Regions from separate parts of the Homo sapiens genome. Here region 2 is linked to region 1. The links are contacts of gene promoters, found by promoter capture Hi-C in human tissues and cell types (Jung and others, 2019). All regions are on one chromosome and are shown on one strand. Each heading gives the region's core, a stretch centred on a gene start or on the middle of the fragment in contact. The rest is flanking DNA. Distances are from core to core; before and after follow the strand shown. Region 1 holds the start of SMTNL2 (smoothelin like 2). Region 2 has its middle 9.3 kb from the start of SPNS3.

The links. Contacts are between HindIII fragments. The study calls those that stand out against the background at their distance.
Region 2: a fragment that was not itself captured here is called in contact with the fragment with the promoter of SMTNL2 in region 1 in 2 of the 25 tissues and cell types used here (dorsolateral prefrontal cortex and lymphoblastoid cells).

Annotation. Positions count from the first base shown.
Region 1 is chr17:4,581,845-4,585,923 of GRCh38, reverse strand. It overlaps SMTNL2 (smoothelin like 2), which reads right to left and starts at 1,395. Exons shown (of 8, transcript NM_001114974.2): 1 at 920-1,395. The coding sequence starts at 1,318. RefSeq lists enhancers at 1-416, 1,037-1,656, 1,657-2,276, 3,069-3,642. The HindIII fragment of the contact is 15,336 bases long and covers 1-4,079 here.
Region 2 is chr17:4,422,640-4,426,552 of GRCh38, reverse strand. No RefSeq gene overlaps it. Among named protein-coding and RNA genes, the nearest start is that of SPNS3, 9.3 kb to the left of the region's middle. The HindIII fragment of the contact is 7,432 bases long and covers 1-3,913 here.

The DNA.
Region 1 (4,079 bases), core at 146-2,645:
CTCCAGGGGGAAGGCCCAATCTGATACCCTCCTCCAGGCCCCCTAGGGTCCAGCCCAGCCCACAGCGGGAAATCTGAGAGCCCCAGGGATTGCACCAAGGAGGGAGCAGGTGCAGGCTACACAGCCCCAGATCCTGGGAACCCAACCCGAGAGCACATGCCTGATCAGGATGGAAAATCCCACCCAAGGGCCACTGCACACACCATGGACACATTCTAACTGCTCTGGGTGGCCCATGCGCAAGGTAGTGACTGGTCCACGTCGGCCTCCGCCCTATCCCCACGTGGTGTGGGCCTCTGGCTAGTCACTGACCCGAGGAATCTAGACACGGCTCAAGGCGGGTTTCCACCTCTCTCCCTTCACGGTAAGGGATTTACCCCCTGCGATGGAGAGTTCCCAAAAGCCGCTGCTGATCGCGTCCCCCTCGACCCCCCTCCCCACCCATCCAGGGGCCTGAGTTCTCAATCTGAGTTAATCAATAACCAGAGCCGTCAGGCCTCAGTGAAGCGGCAACGCAGGGGAGCGTGAATGGAGGGTGGGGGTCAGGCAGGGGTGTCGACCATTCCAACATGCCCCGCGTGGCTCCAGGCAGTGCTGAACAGTCAGGGGCCGGACTTCGGCGCCCAAGCCGTTGATGTCATGGGACAGAGGAGAGAGGGAGACAGGACTCTGAGCAAACAGAGCCTGGCTCTAAAACAGGGCGGAGGACCAAGACAGGTGCAGCTGGCAGGCTCAGCGGTCCTCCCCCCGCCCTCTCCAACTCCGGAGGGGCGGCAGGACCCCCATCACCTAGTCCGAGCGGCCGGTGAAGGCCCCAACCCCGCAGACGCGAGCAGAGGCAGGCAGTCGGGGCGAAGGGGCGGCACCCGGTTCGGAGCCCCACTCCCTGGCGCCAGCGCACGCGCTCCCCCGGGCTCACCTGGCCGCGGCCGGACAGCGAGAAGGTGGCGTGGCTGGCGAAGCGTGCGCTGCCCAGGCGGGGCGCGCGGTCGGGAACCCCGGGCGCGGGCGGGGGGCTGGGCGTGCCGGGAGTGCCGGGCACCGGGGACATCCCGCTGGCCAAGCCCAGCGCCTCCACCTGGCGCGTCAGGCGCTCGAGCTGCGCCTGCAGCCGCTGGTTGTCCCGCTGCAGGTCGGCCACCGTGCGCGCCAGGGGGCCGGCCAGGCGCATCGCCTCTGCCACTCGCCGCTCCACGCCGCGCTGCAGCCCCCGCATGTCCTCGTGCAGCGCGCGCACCGCACCCTCCAGCGCCGCCTCGTAGCGGCCCAGCGCCTCGCGCACAGTGCGCGCCTCCTGGGCGTCGGGGGCCGGCTCCATGGCCCAGCAGAGCGCGCGGGTCGAGAGCGGGCCAGACGGGGGAGAAGATCCGAGCTCCGCAGCTCCGGGCCGCGACTGGCCGTCCGTGGCTGGCTTCGCTCGAGGGGCTGCCGGGGAGGCGGGCGCGGGGCGGGGCCTCGGGGGCGGAGCCGGGGACGACTCCGGGACACCCCCCTGCCCTGGAGCCCAGCGGGACGGTGCGGAGGGAGAGCTCGCCCAGCCTCTCCCCTCCCCGGCTCTTAACTGAGCCCTGCGACCCCGGAGGAGCGGCGTGCGGCCTGCGGGAGGGGCGGCGGGCCCACCCGAAGAAGGCCCTGGCCCCCCTGGACCGTAGAGAGCACACCCGGGCTGACGCGTTCGCTCGGGACTCTCACCCGCAAGGCCCAGGTTCCTCCGGGGGCGGAGACTCCCGGGCTAATGGGGACACCTACAGCTCCCACAGCTGCCGCCCCACTCCGCGGGGCCCTCCCTATGCAGCGGCCACGGCTCTCGCAGGCACACGCTCACCTGTGGGACCTTCGCCTGGAATTTCTTGTATCTGTTCTAAGACCTCAGGGAGGAGACAGGTGGTGAGGTCCCCTCCCTGACTCTGCGACTACGCGCTGTCCCCTCCCAGTCCTACTCTGTATAGCAAGATCTTCGTGCCCTTCCCACTAGTGGTCGGTAGAGGCTCCCGACCCACCAAGGGGCCTCCGTTAGGAGATCCTGGAGAGGCTAAGGGCAGACAGAGAAAGAAGGGTGTGCTGGAGCTGCATCTCCAAATCCTGGAATGGGCGGCTTTGCGACTAATCGCCCCCTCCCGCAATGAGAGTCTCAGTCACTGGCCTCTACCCGTAGGCCAGGGGTCTTACCCCTATTCCTTCTCAATGCTCTTTATGGCTGAACCCAGATAGTTCCCCCTTCCAAATGCACACCCCAAACCATCACCAGAAAAGGGAAGAAGGGAAACAGGTGTTGCTTTAGGACGATGGGATGATGGGCAAAGCTAACTCTAAGTTTTCGCTATATCATAAAGCTGATTTAAAATAAAAATGAGAACATATCCTCCTTTGTGCAAAAAACCTTTCCTAATTGGCCTTCTTTTTCCCAAGCCTGGCCTGCCTGAAAGAGGCCCAGAGGCTGGGCATGCATAGCCAGCTGACCTGCAGGAAGGAGAAGTCTGAAAGGCTTGTTCATATCATGTTCTGCTCCCAAGGTTGTTTGGAGCCCACAAACCCTCCTGGACTGGCCATCATTGCCCCAAAGGAACTGGAGCAGCCTGACAGATGCTAAATGCTGGTTCTCTCCCCCGCCCCCAGCCCCAAGGGGACAGGAAGGAACGCTGGGTTACCTAATCCAAGGAGCCTTCCAGCAATTATTTCATGAAAAAGGCAAATGCCAAAAGGTGTGCATGCTGCATATATGTGTGAGCATGTGTGTGCATTCCAGGTAGCCATCTGGACAGGGTGAGCCAAACTGCTCCCTGAATGCTTTCTCCAGGTGGAATCTTTAGTAGCAGCCTCCAGAGACGCTGCTGCTGCTCTTGCCGCAGACAGCACTCAAAGCCCCTCCAGGTCTCAGCACAAGAACCTGGAGTTCAAAAACCCTGGTCTCAGCCACAGAAGCCCAGTCCCTTCCCTTCTAAGATCCAAGGAAGGACCGTGTGGAGAAGCCTTGAGAGGGACTGGACAGGCTGGTCTCTAGGCTTCTCTCCATCCTCCGGGAGAAGGCAGGCTGGCTGGGCCATTGGTGGGAAGCCTGGCAGGGAGGAGGAGGTGACAGATCGTAGAGCCTGTGGCTGCCTGGGATCCATCCACACTCTCCAGCCTCAGGCTAGTTATCTGGTCTCTCCTGAGCCACATGGGAATCTCTAGGAGGAACTTCTCGGGGACGGGGCATGGCTGCTTCTGGGGCCGAAGGCGGGACTCTGTCAAGGGCAGAGATGGGGGCTCACTGTGGGTTCTGGGAAGGCAGATGGTACAAGACCATCCCCCTTGGCTCCTTTTTCTCAGCAGTCAGATCTCCGAGTCAGTAGCTGGAGATGCACCCAGGAGAGGAGAGAAGAGCCAGGAGCATGAGGAAGAGAGTGATTCTGGGGTGGGAAGGGGGCGGGATGGAGGGTCAGCACCACCCTCCGACCTGGCTCCATGACAGATGGACCGAGGCTGCAGCTCTGTTCCCAGGCCCAGGGGCTCCTGTGAGCCTTCCCTGCAGGCCCCTCCCCCACTCTCCTTTAGCTCCACTCCTGCCCAGTACCAGGCTGCGAGGGAGGTGAGGGCCCGTGAACCTGGCTGGACTCCCTGCACATTCACCAGCCCTGATGTCAGCAAGCAAGTGGAGGCCAACCTCCCACCAAGGCCTGGGGGCCCTGGCGCCTGCCCTTCCCACTCCAGTCTCCTGGCTCTGCCCCTACTGCTGCCCACCGTCGTCCTGCTCTGCTCTGAGTCTAGGCTGGATGCAGGATGCAGGACAAGCTTTCCCCAGCCCCCCTGCCAATGTCTCACAAAATCAAATCCACAGTTAGGGAAGTTACCATCTTTGGGCCTGAGGCGGGGAAACTGAGGCCCTAAGAGGGGCAGGGACTGGCCCAAGGCCACACAGCAAGGCATGCGGAGACAGTACTGGAACCTGGGCCCTGCCCCCACACCCAAGGTGCAGTACCCTCTTTCCTGCACGCCAGTCCCAGCTCACCTCCCAGTACAGCAGTCAGGTTCCACCAGGTCAGAGCAGCTCCTCCCTGCTCCCCGGATTGGCCGGAGGCCTTACTCCCCTGAAATTGCTC
Region 2 (3,913 bases), core at 92-2,591, 160 kb after region 1:
TGAGGTGGGAGGATGGCTTGAGGCCAGGAGTTCGACGCTGCAGTGAGCTACGATCGTGCCATTGCACTCCAGACCGGGCGACAGAGCAAAACCCTGTCTCCAAAAAAAAAAAAAAAAAAAGAAGACATCATGCTGAGTGAAATTACCCAGATGCAAAAGATAAATATTGATTGTATGATTCTACTTATATGAGATTTATAGAATAAGTGAATTTTTTAATTAATTATTAATTTTAATTTTATTTTATTTATTTGTTTCTTTTTGAGACGGAGTCTCACTCTGTCACCCAGGCTGGAGTGTAGTGGAACGATCTCAGCTCACTGCAACCTCCACCTCCTGGGTTCAAGCGATTCTCCTGCCTCAGCCTCCCGAGTAGCTGGGATTACAGGCACGTGCCCCCCACGCCCAGCTAATTTTTGCATTTTTAGTAGAGATGGGATTTTGCCATGTTGGCCAGGCTGGTCTCGAACTTCTGACCTCAGGTGATCTTCCTGCCTTGGCCTCCCAAAGTGCTGGGATTACAAGCCTGAGCCACCGCGCCCGGCCATTTATTTATTTTATTCATTCATTTATTTATTTATTTATGAATGACAAGGTCTGGCTCTGTCACCCAGGCTGGAGTACAGTGGCACAATCTCAGCTCATTGCAATTTCCTTCTCCCAGGTTCAATCCATCCTCCCACCTCTGCCTCCCGAGTAGCTGGGACTACAGGCACACGCCACCATGCTGGCTAATTTTTTGCATTTTTTGTAGAGACAGGGTTTTGCCACGTTGCCAAGGCTGGTCTCAAACTCGTGAGCTCAAGCAATCTGCCCACCTCAGGCCTTTCAAGGTACTGGGATTACAGATGAGAGCCACGGCGCCTGGACTAGAATATGTGAATTTACAGAGACCAAAAGTAGAATAGAGGTTAGGAGGGACTGAATGGGGGCGAGTGAGAAATGGGGTCATTGCTTAATGGGCACAGAGTTTCAGTTGGGGATGATGAAAAAGTTTCACAGATGGAGGGTGGTAATGGTTGCACAACGTGAGTGCATTTAGTACCTCTGAGCTTTACACTTAAAAATGGTTAAATTGAGGCCAGGCGCAGGGGCTCGCACCTGTAATCCCAGCACTTTGGGAGGCTGAGGCAGGCGGATCACCCGAGGTCAGGAGTTCAAGACTGGCCTGACCAAAATGGTGAAGCCCCGTGTCTACTAAAAATACAAAAATTAGCCGGGCGCGGTGGCTCACGCCTGTAATCCCAGCACTTTGGGAGGCTGAGGTGGGCGGATTACGAGGTCAGGAGATCGAGACCATCCTGGCTGACATGGTGAAACCCCGTCTCTACTAAAAATACAAAAACAAAATTAGCCAGGCATGGTGGCAGGCGCCTGTAGTCCCAGCCACTCGGGAGGCTGAGGCAGGAGAATGGCGTGAACCCGGGAGGCACAGCTTGCAGTAAGCTGAGATTATGTCACTGCACTCCAGCCTGGGTGACAGAGCAAGACTCTGTCAAAAAAAATACAAAATACAAAAATTAGTTGGGCGTGGTGGCACATGCCTGTAGTCCCAGCTACTTGGGAAGCTGAGGCAGGAGAATCGCTTGAACTCGGCAGGCAGAGATTGCAGTGAGCCGAGATCGCGTCACTGCACCCCAGTCAGGGCGACAGAGCAAGACTCTGTTTCAAAAAAAAAAAAAAGGCTAAATTGTAAATTCTATATTATTTTACCACAATTAAAAAAAAAGTAAATGGGGTTATTGTAATATCAGAACAGTGACAACATTCTAGATTCCCAGCTTCAGAGGCTGGTTAAATAAATTATGGTACCTCCAGGCCAGGCGCCGTGGCTCATGCCTGTAATCCCAGCACCTTGGGAGGCCGAAGCAAGCGGATCACCTGAAGTCAGGAGTTCGAGACCATCCTGGCCAACATAGAGAAACCCCGTCTCTACTAAAAATACAAAATTAGCCGGGCGTGGTGGCACATGCCTGTAATCCCAGTTATTTGGGAGGTTGAGGCAGGAGAATCGCTTGAACCCTGGAGGCGGAGGTTGCAGTGAGCTGAGATCCTGCCATTGCACTCCAGCCTGGGCAACAAGAGCGAAACTCCATCTCAAAAAAAAAAAAATTAAATTAATAAATAAATCATGGTACCTCCCTACAATGGGGCACCAGACAGCCCTGTACATGATGTTAGTCTATGTTGATCTGAAAGACGTTCAGAATTTGATGGTGAAAAATAAACAAGAGCCTACAAAATCCATGTCCAGGATAATTCCATTCAGATAAAAATAATAAAACACATCAAAGACAAACTTGTGAACTGGCCAGTCATAGCTTATTTGGCTGCTTTTTCTCGTGAATTCTGATACAGAAGCTTATTGGGGGCCAGGCGTGGTGGCTCACACCTGTAATCCCAGCACTTTGGGAGGCCAGGGCGGGCAGATCACCTGAGGTCAGGAGATAGAGACCAGCCTGGCCAACATGGTGAAACCCCGTCTCTACTAAAAATACAAAAAAATTAGCCGGGCATGGTGGTGGTGCCTGTAATCCCAGCTACTTGGGTGACTGAGGCAGGAGAATCCCTTGAACCCAGTAGGCAGAGGTTGCAGTGAGCCAAGATCGCACCACTGCACTCCAGCCTGGGCAACAAGAGCAAAACTCCATCTCAAAAAAAAAAAAAAAAAGCTCATTTGAGATGATTTTTAGTGGAGACCCTTCCAGAGTGGCTCCCATCAGAGTTTAAATTTATGTCCTTTTTTTAACAAAAGAAATGTCCAGCCTCACAGAATAGGAGGTGACAGGCTGGGCACAGTGGTTCACACCTGTAATTCCAACAGTTTGGGAGGCCAAGGTGAGAGGATTGTTTGAACCCAGGAGTTTGAGACCAGCCTGGGCAACAGGCCCCCATCGCTGCAAAAAAAAAAAAAAAAATTAGACAGGCATGGTGGTGGTGTGCCTGTAGTCCCAGCTACTCAGGAGGTTGAGGCAGGAGGATTGCAGGATTGCTTGAGCCAAGGAGGTTGAGGCTGTAGCGAGCTGTGATTGCATCACTGTACTCCAGCCTCAGTGACAGAGCAAGACCCTTAATCAAAAAAAAAAAAAAAAAGAAGGTCACAGGAAGTCACTCAGGAATCACTTTTTTTTTTTTTTGAAATGGAGTCTCCCTGTGTCACCCAGGCTGGAGTGCAGTGGTGCAGTCTCGGCTCATTGCAAGCTCCACCTCCCGGGTTCACGCCATTCTCCTGCCTCAGCCTCCTGAGTAGCTGGGACTACAGGCACCTGCCACCACACCCAGCTAATTTTTTGTATTTTTAGTAGAGACGGGGTTTCACTGTGTTAGCCAGGATGGTCTAGATCTCCTGACCTTGTAATCCACCCACCTCGGCCTCCCAAAGTGCTGGGATTATAGGCATGAGCCACCGAGCCCGGCCAGGAATCACTCTTCAGAAATCCCCAGGGAGTCATCTTTTATGTGATGAATCAATAAGGATGCTTTTGTCCGCAAGTAACAGCAGAAGTAACAGCAGCCAAACCAGGACATTCATTCGTTCTCTTGCACTGCAAATCAAGAAGTAGGCAGTTTCAGGGTTGATTAACTCAGTGGCTCCATGACATCATAAAAAACTCAGTGTTTTTCATCTTTCCCCCCTGAAATCTTTATAGTGTTGGCCTTTGATTACTTAATTAATTGCTATAAAACAAATCCCCCCAGAACTCATGGCTTTAAACAACAGTAGTCATTTATCTCTTGCATTTTTCAGTGGTCAGGAATTTGGGAGCAGCTGAGATGCAGGACTATGGCTCAGGGTCTCTTGTTGCCGTGAAGGGCTGCAGTCCCCTAAAGTCTTAACTGGGGCTGGGAGCTCTGTTTCCAAGGGGCCTCACTCACGTGGCAGGCAAGTTGGTGCTGCCTGTTGGCTCCTGTC